Linked DNA regions of Homo sapiens: all the other regions are linked to region 1. The links are contacts of gene promoters, found by promoter capture Hi-C in blood cells and fetal thymus (Javierre and others, 2016). All regions are on one chromosome and are shown on one strand. The core of a region is centred on a gene start or on the middle of the fragment in contact, and the rest is flanking DNA. Distances in the headings are between cores, read along the strand shown.

Region 1 (2,700 bases), core at 144-2,643:
AATTTATTTTAGGGCAACTGCCTGATTTATTTTAAGCCCTATGCTTAAAAATAAGTCTAATTCACATGACTTAAAATGCTGGAGCCAAGAAAAGTCGCTGCAAAGGCATTTAATGAAATACCTGGTTTGTCTAGTTGTCTTTGTTATGATTTTTGTATAAACCAAGAACGTCCTATCTTGATATATATAGTGGATTTTATATCTAAATATTTCTTGTATTTAATAAATTGAAAATAGAAATAGACATTTTTTCAAACAGTGTAAGATTTTCCTAACCTCTGACTCACATCGTAAGGCTGGTGGACTGTTCAGATGCTGTACGATGCTTTTTACTCCGATGCTTTTTGGTTCATCTGTAGCATTTTCCATCATGGGGTAAAAGATCCACATTTTCTATTTCTAGTGATCCTTAATTTGGCTTCTGAGCAAAAATAAAGTTTGATGAGGAATAAATTAAGGTAGATTTCCTGCTGAAACCAGTGAAGAACATAACTTTATCAGCGGGGGTGAGTGACAAGTCTTTCACCTTTCCTCACACCACAGTCAACGAAGTAACGGAACTAGGAGAAATGCCCATTATTCTCATGTCCTACATTAGTTCTGATAAAAATCACAATTAAGTTTCACTGAATGTTTTGACATTGAAACGGCAGCATTACACGTCCAGGAGAGAACTACAGTAGGGGTGTTATGAGAACTAACACGAACGACTTAAAAATATTGATTTTTTTCTACGAGATTATTTTCCTTTAAAAAAATTAAATTGAGCTTGACTTCTATTGACTGTATCTTCCGGAGTCAGTATTTTATGGCTCCCCTGACACACACGCCTGGCGTGGGAGGGCTGAGCGCTGCAGCGCTTCGGAACTTTCCCAGTGAATCGTAAATGGGTTCAACGCCGGGGCTCGCGGAGGGCTGTCCATGGAGTACCACTGAAAACCAAACGCCACTGGTGCTCAATGCTGGTACCTGCCGACGAAAAGGCTTCTTGCCTAAAAAAGAACCTATTGCCCCACCCTAACAGCAACAAGGAGAACAAGCACTCTCTCCTCGTCAGAAGTCTCTGGACTGGCTGCAACCCAGAGGAAACAGAGCTGGGGCATCTGCCGGGACAGCGATCAGAAGCAGCCAGAGCTCCGCCTCCGTCCGGACCTCCAAGGCCGCTCCAGAGCCCTGCATGGCTCCTCAGAGCCGGCCAAGGCGAGAACCTTGCCGGCAGCTGCTTACCCGCACTCGGCTCCTCCCAGCGGTCCGCCTTCTCCACCGCCTGCCCGCAAGGCCCCGCCCACCTCACCGCCCCGCCCCACCCCACCCTGCGGAGGCGACAGAGTGCGCGCGCGCGCGCGGGGTCCCGGCTGGTTCCCCTTCCGAGCGTCCGCGCCCCGCATGCGCAGTCTGCCCCGGCGGTCTCCGTTTGTTTGAACAGGAAGGCGGACATATTAGTCCCTCTCAGCCCCCCTCGCCCCACCCCCCAGGCATTCGCCGCCGCGACTCGCCCTTTCCCCGGCTGGGACCGCAGCCCCTCCCAGAAGCTCCCCCATCAGCAGCCGCCGGGACCCAACTATCGTCTTCCTCTTCGCCCGCTCTCCAGCCTTTCCTCTGCTAAGTCTCCATCGGGCATCGACCTCGCCCTGCCCCACCGGACACCGTAGCAGCAGCCCCAGCAGCGACGGGACAAAATGGGAGAGTGAGGCTGTCCTGCGTGGACCAGCTCGTGGCCGAGACTGATCGGTGCGTCGGGCCGGGCCGAGTAGAGCCGGGGACGCGGGGCTAGACCGTCTACAGCGCCTCTGAGCGGAGCGGGCCCGGCCCGTGGCCCGAGCGGCGGCCGCAGCTGGCACAGCTCCTCACCCGCCCTTTGCTTTCGCCTTTCCTCTTCTCCCTCCCTTGTTGCCCGGAGGGAGTCTCCACCCTGCTTCTCTTTCTCTACCCGCTCCTGCCCATCTCGGGACGGGGACCCCTCCATGGCGACGGCGGCCGGGGCCCGCTAGACTGAAGCACCTCGCCGGAGCGACGAGGCTGGTGGCGACGGCGCTGTCGGCTGTCGTGAGGGGCTGCCGGGTGGGATGCGACTTTGGGCGTCCGAGCGGCTGTGGGTCGCTGTTGCCCCCGGCCCGGGGTCTGGAGAGCGGAGGTCCCCTCAGTGAGGGGAAGACGGGGGAACCGGGCGCACCTGGTGACCCTGAGGTTCCGGCTCCTCCGCCCCGCGGCTGCGAACCCACCGCGGAGGAAGTTGGTTGAAATTGCTTTCCGCTGCTGGTGCTGGTAAGAGGGCATTGTCACAGCAGCAGCAACATGTCGACTGGGGACAGTTTTGAGACTCGATTTGAAAAAATGGACAACCTGCTGCGGGATCCCAAATCGGAAGTGAATTCGGATTGTTTGCTGGTGAGTAGCGCTGTTCTCTTTTGCTTGTCTGGGGTTTTGCATGTCTTTCCTTCCTCTTGCATTAGTCTGGTTCGCTGCAAAAGTCTCAGGTGTGCATAATCGTCTTGGAAAATGCTAGATTTCTGTTTCCTGAAGAATCTTGGAGTACCATTAACATCTCATGGTGTGGTCCTATTTGCCATTTGACTGGCTCTGTACTAACTACTCTGAACTTTTAATTCTGACTCAGTTCATGAGTACCCGAAAGATACTTACAAACTGCTATTGCAGGCATCCTATAAAAAGTTATCACGTCAGAGTTACTGCAATGTA
Region 2 (2,700 bases), core at 84-2,583, 120 kb after region 1:
TTGGCATCTTAAATTATTTTTGCTCAAAAGAAAGCTCATAATCTCATCCATCAAACCTGCTCTTATTCTTTATTCTCACTAACCTAGTTAATGGCCATATGGTCTTTATGAGCTAAGGCTTTGGAATCAGACAGATCAATGTTGCTCTGTAACTATTCTAAGTTAGATGAAAAATGCATGTAAAGTGCCTGTGCATAGAAAGTTTTCAGTAGCTATTATCTTGGCTACTGAACATCACATCATCATCTTGCCAAGAGTTGTTCTACTCATCAGTCATTCTCACTTAGGTTAGAACAATTTTCCTTTTTAGTCAAATCGTATTTTGGTTGTCCTTAAAATCCTTTAGTGGCTTTTCATTGTTTGCAGGGTACCTTTCAAACTCCTTGTATATATAGAATCTTTAAGTTGACACCTGCCTGTCTTTACAATCTTACTACCCTACACTTTGTTGTGTGTACCCTGTGCTTCAGCCATATTGAGCTTCTTTTATTTCCTTCACTTAAGTTAATTATTGACTGCCTACAGACAAGGCACAGCTGGGAATATCGCAGAGAATAAAACTGACAGGAAGCCCGGAGATTACATTCAGATAGTGAATATAGACAAAAAAAAATAATAATACATAAATGAAAATACATACAGCTTGTAATTATTAATGGGAAGGAAATACATATTAATATGATTGTTTTGACTTGGCACTGCCCTGGATGGGGGTTCTGAGGAAGGCTTTCTGAGCTAGTAATATTTGAGGTAAGAACTGAAAGTCAAAATGAACCACCTGTTAAATGAGCTGGAGAAAGTGCATTACAGGCAGAAGTGATAGTAAGTTCAGTATTCTTATTCTAAGATTTGTATTAAGCCACTAGCACATTTTAAGCTTCTGGGATGTGTAATTTATATTTTTAAAAGATCATTCCCGCTGCTCTGTGGGGAATGCTTTCAAGAGTGAGAACAGTGATAAAAAGGGAGATCAGTTAGAAAGCTATACGCTGTAAACACTGGTAGTAGTAGAGAGGGAAAGAAGTCGAGGTATAGAGGAGAAGAGTGATGAATTGGATAGAAAGAGGCCGGGTGCGGGGACCCACACCTGTAATGCTAGCACTTTGGGAGGGCAAGGCAGGCAGATTATTTGAGGTCAGGAGTTTGAGACCAGCCTGGGCAACATGGTGAAACCCCCATCTCTACTGAAAAATACAAAAATTAGCTGCGTGTAGTGGTGCGTACCTGTAATCTCAGCTACTCAGGAGACTGAGGCAGGAGTATTCTTAGAATCCAGGAGGCGGAAGTTGCAGTGAATCGAGATTGCACCACTGTATTCCATCCTGGGCAACAGAGCGAGACACCATCTCAAAAAAAGAAAAAAAAAAGACTGAGTCTAACTGGGGTTGGAGTGGTTTGGGGATAGGCCAGAAGTAAAGGCATCTATTGTGGATATGTTAACTTTAATAAGATTATTAGATATCTAGGTGGAGATGTTAAATAGTCAATTGGTATCTAAGTCTGGAGCTCAGGAGAGAGATACCAAGAGTCAGAAGAACATAGTGGATGGATTTGTGTTTGATTAAACAGAAGGGTCTTAAGAGGTGACAGTTTTATTGGTGCAGCTAAGTTTGTAAGTTTGGGGGGAAAGATAAGGAATAGTTTATTTATATTTATTTAATAGTTTATATTTTGTCACCTAGAGGGTGGTCTCCAAGAGTGGGAAAGCACACTTTAAATAAACTTGAATCCTTATGGGGCAACTTACTAGTTACATGAACATGGAAAAGTTAACCTCTCAGAAGCTTAGTTATATTTCAAAAAAGGAGCCTCAGTGTAGACTAATATATTCCAGTAATAATTAAAAGAGGTATACTACTGTGGAATCTTATTCATCTGAATTGTATAAATTGGAGTTCCTACCATAGCCTTAAGCCTCTTCAACCTTTTCTGGAACAATGCAGGGTATAAATTAATAACCACAGCCTTATTTTTCTGCTTTTGCTTGATGTATGTTCATTGTTCTTTGTTAATTCACTTCCTTTCTAGCTATACTCTTCACCTTCTTGTCTGAAAGTGGTACCGATTAATCTCTCATCACTGGGCAAGAGCTGGGTTTAGAAGATTTTATTACTGTATTATATTTTATAACTCCTTTTCTTTAGAGATTTCTGCTATATAAATAGTTTACATAATGTGAGAATTTCTATAATTACTAGCTCTATTCAAGTCCCAGAATAAAAACAATAGAGACATTTGAAACCAGTTTACAGCCCATATAAAGTGAAATGTGTTAAAGTACTCTTTCTTTAAATGTATGTTTGTAACTTTTTGCTTTCCCAGAGATGGAAAAAAAGCTGAAAGAAGAAAGAGAAGCTCGAGAGAAGGCTGAAAATCGGGTTGTTCAGATTGAGAAACAGTGTTCCATGCTAGACGTTGATCTGAAGCAATCTCAGCAGAAACTAGAACATTTGACTGGAAATAAAGAAAGGATGGAGGATGAAGTAAGAAAAATAGTACTGACTTTGTTCATCTATTAAAAGAGAAACGGTTATATAAGTTATGACTGGAGTTATCTATAATTTAAACACCATGAAGGAGATTTGAATGAAATAATTGACATGGGTCTGTGTTCACTGCTGTATGGTCACCCCAGCACCTAGAATTTTCCTCTTCAAATAGTTATTGAACATTCACTCTGTGTGATCTATGCCATTTTTC
Region 3 (2,700 bases), core at 115-2,614, 110 kb after region 1:
TTAAATTAAATATATATTAGGGAGGAGAGCCAGTTAAGGGAGACTCAGAAGGGGCAAAAATGACTAAATGGAGAAAGGAGGACTTATTCTATACTATCTACCATTTGGTACCTTTTAAATTTTGTATTTTTATTAAGATATTGAATTATCAAGCAATTGAACTCTTGAAAAATAAATAATATTAAAACTAGCTTTATAAGTATACTATCAGTGATCTTATAAAGGGAATAAAGGAGTTTGAGATTTACAACAGTAAGAAGAAATCTTTTTGCACTCTGTATTAGAAGATAATGTTCTACTTTTTAATGAATTTAAAATGCAGGTACTTCCAAATTGGAATTTGGCTTTGGGAGTGGACCTAATGTAGCTGACTATTATGGCCTAAGACTAAATGTCTTTTTTTAAAAAAGGATTTATATGTTTCCCCTATGAAAATGTTGTAATTTCTATATATTATTCTTTCATTTTCTAGTTTCTACATTAAAGGATCAGTTGGAAGACTTAAAGAAAGTCAGTCAGAATTCACAGCTTGCTAATGAGAAGCTGTCCCAGTTACAAAAGCAGGTAAGTGTTTCAAATGAGGTTCCTTTTTAAAAAAATTGTAGATAATTAAATTATATCGTACTTTGGTCAGAAACCTATTTTTTTGCTTTCTTTTTAAATAGCTAGAAGAAGCCAATGACTTACTTAGGACAGAATCGGACACAGCTGTAAGATTGAGGAAGAGTCACACAGAGATGAGCAAGTCAATTAGTCAGTTAGAGTCCCTGAACAGAGAGTTGCAAGAGAGAAATCGAATTTTAGAGAATTCTAAGTCACAAACAGACAAAGATTATTACCAGCTGCAAGCTATATTAGAAGCTGAACGAAGAGACAGAGGTCATGATTCTGAGATGATTGGAGACCTTCAAGGTAATATTTTTTCTTATTGTGGTAAAATATACGTAACATGAAATTTATTATAACATTTTAACCATTTTTATATATACAGTTCAGTGGGATTAAATGCAGTTCACAATGTATGCAACCATCATCATATAAGTGGAATCATACAGTGTTTGTCCTTTTGCGTCTGGCTTTTTTCACTTAGCACAATGTCTTCAAGGTTTATCCATGTTGTGTGTGTCAGATTTTCCTTCCTTTTTAGGGCTCAGTAATATTCCATGGTATGTGTATACCACATTTTGTTCATCCACTCATCTATCAATGGAAGGAATATTTTATAATTTTTATTTTTAATTGTTAAAAATATATAACATAAAATTTACCATCTTGACCATTTTTAAGTCTAAGTTAATATATTTATGATCATATTACCCTCATAAAGAAAATGACTTTGGTGAAACCAGAAATGGTTGCATTCTTTTTTATTGTTTACGTTTTTTTGAGATAGGAACTTGCTCTGTTGCACAGGCTGGAGTGCAGCGGCATGATCACAGCTCACTGCAGCCTTGAACTCCTGAGGTCAAGCAATTCTCCCACCTCAACCTCCTGAGTAGCTGGGACTACAGGTGCATGCCACCATGCCCAGCTAATTTTTGCATTTTTTGTAGAGACGGGGTTTCACCATTTTGCCCAGGCTGGTCTCAAACTCCTGAGCTCAAGCGATCCGCCCACCTCGACCTCCCAAAGTGCTGGCATTATGGGTGTGAGACACCACACCAGGCCAGCATTCTTTCTCTTTTAGAATAATGCCCACATTTGTATCACATTGTAATTTCTTCACCCTCACAGGTACTCCTGCAGGGTATGTAATGTGGATATTTTTCAGTTTTACAGACAAATTAACCAAAAACTTCATTTAAAAACTTGCCTAATTCATAAAGGTTTTACTCAAAGTGAGACTAATCCAGGCAAAGAGGATTATCACTATTAAAACCTAGGAATTCCTCATGCATCGTTGGTAGTAATAGAAAGTCAGTTGCAGAAATAAAATCCCATTACACATTAAAAGTTAGATACTTGGGAATGTTTGAACTGGAGATATTGACAGTCTTTGTGAATCTAAGAGGCAGAAGATTGAGTATAACTAAGTGAATAAATGAACAGTTTTTAAATAGTAATAAAATTCAGTTTGTTTTCAAAAAGATTCCTGGCTTTACCTACTCACATATTTTTCTATTTTCTATTCCTGTTAGCAGCAGCATCCATACTACCTAATCAAAACAAATATGCATAGAAGTTGCCAGATGTCTCAGGAAAAAATTGGAGGGAGGAGTTCTTTTTAACCTTAGTTAGAGATGGGAACATAGTTTCAGGTCCCTTGGGGCTTGATGATTAGCTATAATTCAGTGGAGAGAGGTCAGGGTCAGTTTTTGTGACTAAGGAAACAGAAAATACAATCTCCTGTTGGTTCTTAGCTGAGGAGTGTTGTGCAATCATATTTCTCAGGGACCAGGCTTAAAATAGATCTGATTATAACTAAGAAAGTAACCACTTTATATGTAATAGGAAAGTCACAGACTTCCTTAAATTGTTTTCCTAGGCCTTTTTATACAGCTTATTAGCTGTTTGAAAGTCTCTTCATCTCCCTTCTTTATCTGTAAACCAAGGAGATAAGAATAGGTTACCTCTATAAATCCTTCCAATTCTAAAATTCTTATAAGTTTGTGATCTGTGTTTGACTGAGCTTTAAGCTCCTTGCTTCAGAGGCAGAGATCATCCATGTACTATCAACAGTGGTTTTTAACTGAATCTATT
Region 4 (2,701 bases), core at 122-2,621, 74 kb before region 1:
TATATCAAGGATTGGTGCATCTGGGAATTTTAGTACCTTTGGGGGTCCTGGAATCAATCCCCCATGGATACCGATGGTATATATACATATCTCATATAAACTAGGCATGCCATTCTCAGGGACCTGAAAGCCATTCTTTTGAAATGTAACCACCAGGAAGGATAGGACCTGTCTCTCAGTCTGTAGGAGAGTCCTAACTTCAATAATTGCCAGCTAGTAGGCCAGGTGTGGTGGCTTATGCCTGTGATCCCAGCATTTTGGGAGACTGAGGTAAGTGGATTACTTGAGGCCAGGAGTTCGAGGCCAGCCTGGCCAACATGATGAAATCCCATGTCTACTAAAAATACAAAAATTAGCTAGGCGTGGTGTTGTATGCCTGTAGTCCCAGCTACTCGGGAGGCTGAGGCAGCAGAATTGCTTGAACCTGGGAGGCAGGGGTTGCAGTGAGCCAAGATCATGCCACTGCACTCCAGCCTGGATGACAAAGAGATACTCTGTCTCAAAAAAAAAAAAAAAAAAGCCAGCTAGTAGACATAGCTGGCCTAATCACATTTACACTCACCCACCTTTTTTTTTTTTTAGAGTGTCACTCTATTGCCCAGATTTGAGGCGCAGTGGCATGATCACAGCTCACTGCAGCCTCGACCTCCTCAAACAATCTGGCTCAAGTGATCCTCTTGCCTCAGCCTCCCAAGTAGCTGGGACTACAGGTGTGCACCACTAGGCCCAGCTAATTTTTGTAGTTTTTGTAGATGGAGTTTCACCATGTTGGCCAGGCTGGTCTCAAACTCCTGAGCTCAAGTGATCCATCTGCCTTGGCTTCCCAAAGTTCTGGGATTACAGGTGTGAGCCACTGTGACAGGTTGACCCAACTTCATACCCACTTTTTGTAATTTTTCACTTCCCTGACTGTATTTGAGCCCCCGTTTATTCCCCTTCCCTTCTCTGTTATTCTTTTATTAAATTGCTCAGTTACCTCTGGATAAATCGGAATGGAGCTCACCTCTTTCAGCTACTGTCAGTAGTTACTGAATAAAATCTGTTTTCATTACTTTAATGTCTGTCTTTGATTATCTTTAGCAATTCACACATGTTGAAAATGACATACAGGTTGGGTATGCTGGCTCATTCCTGTAATCCCAGTACTTTGGAAGGCTGAGGCTGGAGGATTGCTCGAGCCCAGGAGTTTAAGACCAGCCTGGGCAACATAGTCTCTACAAAAAAAAAAAAAAAAAAAAATTAGCCAGGTGAGGTGGTGCACGCCTGTGGCCCCAGTTACCTAGGAGACTGAGGTGGGAGGATCACTTGAGCCAGGGAGGTTGAGGCTGCAGTCAGCTGTGATTGTGCCACTGTACTCCACAGAGTGAGACCTTGTCTCAAAAGAAAAAAGACTGGGCACAGTGGCTCACACCTGCAAACCCGGCACTTTGAGAGAACAAGGCAGGTGGATCACCTGAGGTCAGGAGTTCAAGACCAGCCTGGCCAACATGGTGAAACCCCATCTCTACTAAAAATACAAAAATTAGCCGGGCATGGTGGCATGTGCCCATAATCCCAGCTACTTGAGAGGCTGAGGCAGGAGAATTGCTTGAACCTGGGAGGCAGAGGCTGCAGTGAGCTAAGATTGTACACTGCAACTGCACTCCAGCCTGGGTAACAGAGTGAGACTGTCTCAAAGAAAAAAAAAAAAAGAAAGAAAGAAAAGAAAAGTACAAGGCAGTTCATTATAGCATTGTTTGTGATAGTCACAGATTTGTAACAACTTTTAATTTGTAGGAGTCCATCAAGAGGGGCCTGCTTGAATAAAGCATCATAGCACATCTATACAAACAGTACTATTCAACCATAAAAAACAAGGCACTTTATGAAATGGTAGAAAGATTGCCAAGATTTGTAGTTAGATGAAAAAAGGCGCCGAACAGTATGTGTTGTCATTATTATTTGTCTAGAAAAAGAAAGAAAACAGGTGAATATCAATTGTATGCCATTTATATACTGGAAGGACAATAAGACACTGAGAACAGTGGTTACCTGTTATAAGGAGACAGCAATTACCCCTGGAAGGGCAAGCAGGCACCTGATATCCAGAGGTGGGCAGAGGCAGACACAGTTCATACTTTGTTGGGGAGCTGCTTCCTGGGCAGCTGATCCTGGACTTCCAGGAGGTGCTAGGCCATGGCAGATGGCCAGCACTGAGAACAGGCTTGAAGGGATGAAAAGGTAATTTTTTTTTTTCAAGATGGAATTTCACTCTTGTTGCCCAGGCTGGAGTGCAGTGGCACGATCTCAGCTCACTGCAACCTCTGCCTCTGGAGTTCAAGTGATTCTCCTGCCTCAGCCTCCAAAGTGGCTGGAATTACAGGAAGGCACTACCACACCCGGCTAATTTTTTGTATTTTTAGTACAGATGGGGTTTCACCATGTTGGTCAGGCTGGTCTTGAACTCCTGACCTCAAGTGATCCACCTGCCTCAGCCTCCCAAAGTGCTGGGCGTGAGCTGCTGTGCCTGGCCTGAAAAGGTAATTTTTGGAGAAGGCAGAGATCAACAGGGCCAAGGTTAGTGGGCCATGAAGCAGAGTGACTACAGAGCTTCAGCCAGCAGATTGGATTACATTTAATACTCTCCTTGCTCCAAAGTTCTGGAGAGGCATCAGAAAGGGAAATGCCACTTAGCATGTGGGAGATCTGCTGAACCTCAACT
Region 5 (2,700 bases), core at 146-2,645, 87 kb after region 1:
TATATTTTTGAAACAAGAGTCTCACTCTGTCGCTGAGGCTGGAGTGCGGTGGTGTGATCTTGGCTCACTGCAATCTCTGCCTCCTGGGTTCAAGTGATTCTTGTGCCTCAGCCTCTGAGTAGCTGGGATTACAGGTGCGTACCACCATGCCTGGCTAATCTTTGTATTTTTATTAGAGATGGGGTTTTGCCATGTTGGCCAGGCTGTTGGCCAGGCTGGTCTCAAACCCCTGGCCTCAAGTGATCCACCCACCTTGGCCTCCCAAAGTAATCCCAGCGGATTACAGGTGTGAGCCACTGCACCTGGCCCTGGCAAAATATTGATTAGCTTTATTGTAATATGTAAGCATAATTTTGAATATACAGATATGAAATAGAAAACCTCTGAAATTCTTATCCCTGAAATCCAGATATACTTTTAATACCAAGGGCAGAAATCATTGTTGCTTAATTATAGCTGAATTAAACATGATTTTTAAAATAGCCTTAAGCTATATTCCTAATATAGTAACTCCCGTTTTGTAAAAAGTTACCTAAATGACCAGATTCTATGTAAAAGCACCAATATAATATGCAAATGTACCTTGATAGAGAAAAGACAGAAGGTGGAAGAATTAATGGATGTATACAAGTGATGTCCTTACATTTCCTTTGCTGCATTCAAGCTTATATTACTAATTTTGCAGAAGACTAAAATGTCAGTCTCAGTCACATAGCATGTTAAGTTTAGAAAATATCTTAGAGATGAAACAGTCTCATCTAATTTAGATGCCACTGGCATTGCTATATGCCTTATTTATATTACATAAGCAGAATCTCACATTGAATTTCTGAGATGCTTAGTAGTCAATGGAATTAAATTGCACCACACCTAGAATTTGTCATTTGTTATATGGGACTTTTCCTCTATAAAGCTGCTACACAGCCCCTATTATTGTCTTAAAGTTATTTGAATCTCCATTTGATCTGAATAATTTTTCAAGGAAAACCTAGGAAGTGGCATATTTCTAGCTGTTTCTTTTATAGTACCATTGTACTGTGTATGTTTATTGATACTTAATGGATACTTGATTATCTTCTGTTATTCACTAATTTTTAAAATTTACTTAAACTGTTCTTTTGGAACATTATTAATATCTGGTGTGTTAACACATGCCTCCAATAGCTATGAAGTATACTGTAACTATTTGATCTCCTTTTGCAATAGCTCTACTGGTTAATCAGGGTGCTGACTGTAGTGGTGGTGATGGTAGAAGTAGTGATTATGGTAGTCGTAGCATGGTGGCAGTAGGAGCAACACTGGCAGTACTAGTACCTTACCTTTATATAATATTTGGTAGCTTAAAAAATTGTTTACATATATGATCTATTTAGATTGTTTGAGAATCTTGTGAGACATCTAAAAAAGACCTCTAAATTAGTTCACTAATAGCTTTATTTATATACAATTCTAACTTTACACTGAATTTAAAGAACTCTGCAAGGCTGGGAGTCCCAAAAGATTAGCAGCATCACCTAAACTTTGGTTCTGTTATTTCACCCACATAGGCAAAAACTTTTTTGACCCGAAGAGGCAATATTATGCTTTGCTGAAGGATAGTTGGGTGCAGGAGAGGTGGTTATGCATATGTCTGCAGAAGTCAGCAGTTTCTTACCCCCAATTCTTATATACAAAAAGCTCTGAAAACTGAATGTTTTTAAGTTATTTGTTTGGTGGAAAAACCTGTCATAACCTGCTCTCATGACCAGAAAGCCTAATCTGAACTAACTTGAGACTATGGTTTTTATTTATCCTACTTGGTATGAATATTCTTATGTTTTGCTGCAGGAATATTAAGTCATATGTTTACAGGCTGCTACTATTTTTAGACCTAACTGGGTGTTTTATTTAATATATGTATCATTTCTGAATTATGTTTATAAAAATTATGAACCTATACTTAATTTTTAAAAACAAAGTTACTATAACTGAACATAAAATAGGCGTGTAGTATTTATTATTGGTTGTCATGGGATATTACAGAGTTTTTTGTTTTCTTTTCTTTTTAAACTTTTCTTTCCCTCAGATACTTATCTTCAGCAAATCCTAATGATAACAGAACTAGCTCCAATGCAGATAAAAGCTTGGTAGGTATTTTCTTAGTATTAAGAAAATTGTTTTTAAAATTGTTTTGTGGATAATATATTTGTGGGTATGATAGTAAATTTATATATTGTTTGTGAAGCTGTGGTTAGCTGAACTTAGATTTTTATGGCACTTTCATCTCCCATCTCCTTTTCAGTCTGATTTTTTGCTCAAATATCAAATGGAATAATATATTTGGAGGCAGTTAGTAAACTAAATTGTTACACAGATTGACAGTGGTCATCTTTTTTAATCTTCGGAATCAGGAACTATGATATATCAATGTATCATTAAGGGTCTTGACAGGCAAACAGATTACATGTTCAAAATATTTAAACAGAGAGTTTTGTGTGTATGGCAAATATACGTAACATGAAATTTACCGTTTTAATCATTTTTAAGTGTGCAGTTCGGTGGCATTAAGCACCTTCACATAGTTGTGCAGCCATCACTGCCATCCATCTCTAGAACCTTTTCATCATCCCAAACTAAAAATCTATACCAATTAAACAGTAACTCCTCATTTCACCCTCCCCCCAGCTCCTGGTAACCACTGTTCTACTTTCTGTCTCAATG

The links. The method cuts DNA at HindIII sites, captures the fragments that hold promoters and counts their contacts. A CHiCAGO score of 5 or more calls a contact.
Region 2: a contact is called between a fragment that was not itself captured here and the fragment with the promoter of ROCK1 in region 1, in 3 of 17 cell types (naive B cells, fetal thymus and total CD4 T cells). The highest score is 5.2, in naive B cells.
Region 3: a fragment that was not itself captured here is called in contact with the fragment with the promoter of ROCK1 in region 1 in 2 of 17 cell types (naive CD4 T cells and total B cells); the score reaches 5.4 in naive CD4 T cells.
Region 4: a fragment that was not itself captured here is called in contact with the fragment with the promoter of ROCK1 in region 1 in 1 of 17 cell types (neutrophils); the score reaches 5.2 in neutrophils.
Region 5: a contact is called between a fragment that was not itself captured here and the fragment with the promoter of ROCK1 in region 1, in 7 of 17 cell types (naive CD4 T cells, naive B cells, activated CD4 T cells and 4 more). The highest score is 7.4, in naive CD4 T cells.

What each region holds. Positions count from the first base shown.
Region 1 is chr18:21,110,506-21,113,205 of GRCh38, reverse strand. It overlaps ROCK1 (Rho associated coiled-coil containing protein kinase 1), which reads left to right and starts at 1,393. Exons shown (of 33, transcript NM_005406.3): 1 at 1,393-2,388. The coding sequence starts at 2,296. RefSeq lists enhancers at 795-854, 885-1,104, 1,204-1,498, 1,152-1,740 and a silencer at 1,145-1,534. The HindIII fragment of the contact is 6,843 bases long and covers 1-2,700 here.
Region 2 is chr18:20,986,733-20,989,432 of GRCh38, reverse strand. It overlaps ROCK1 (Rho associated coiled-coil containing protein kinase 1), which reads left to right. Exons shown (of 33, transcript NM_005406.3): 19 at 2,323-2,483. Among named protein-coding and RNA genes, the nearest start is that of ROCK1, 120 kb to the left of the region's middle. The HindIII fragment of the contact is 907 bases long and covers 880-1,786 here.
Region 3 is chr18:21,004,563-21,007,262 of GRCh38, reverse strand. ROCK1 (Rho associated coiled-coil containing protein kinase 1) reads left to right here. Exons shown (of 33, transcript NM_005406.3): 15 at 473-564; 16 at 666-912. Among named protein-coding and RNA genes, the nearest start is that of ROCK1, 110 kb to the left of the region's middle. The HindIII fragment of the contact is 3,787 bases long and covers 1-2,700 here.
Region 4 is chr18:21,184,967-21,187,667 of GRCh38, reverse strand. No RefSeq gene overlaps it. Among named protein-coding and RNA genes, the nearest start is that of GREB1L, 56 kb to the left of the region's middle. The HindIII fragment of the contact is 3,283 bases long and covers 1-2,701 here.
Region 5 is chr18:21,023,046-21,025,745 of GRCh38, reverse strand. It overlaps ROCK1 (Rho associated coiled-coil containing protein kinase 1), which reads left to right. Exons shown (of 33, transcript NM_005406.3): 11 at 2,066-2,126. Among named protein-coding and RNA genes, the nearest start is that of ROCK1, 87 kb to the left of the region's middle. The HindIII fragment of the contact is 1,458 bases long and covers 667-2,124 here.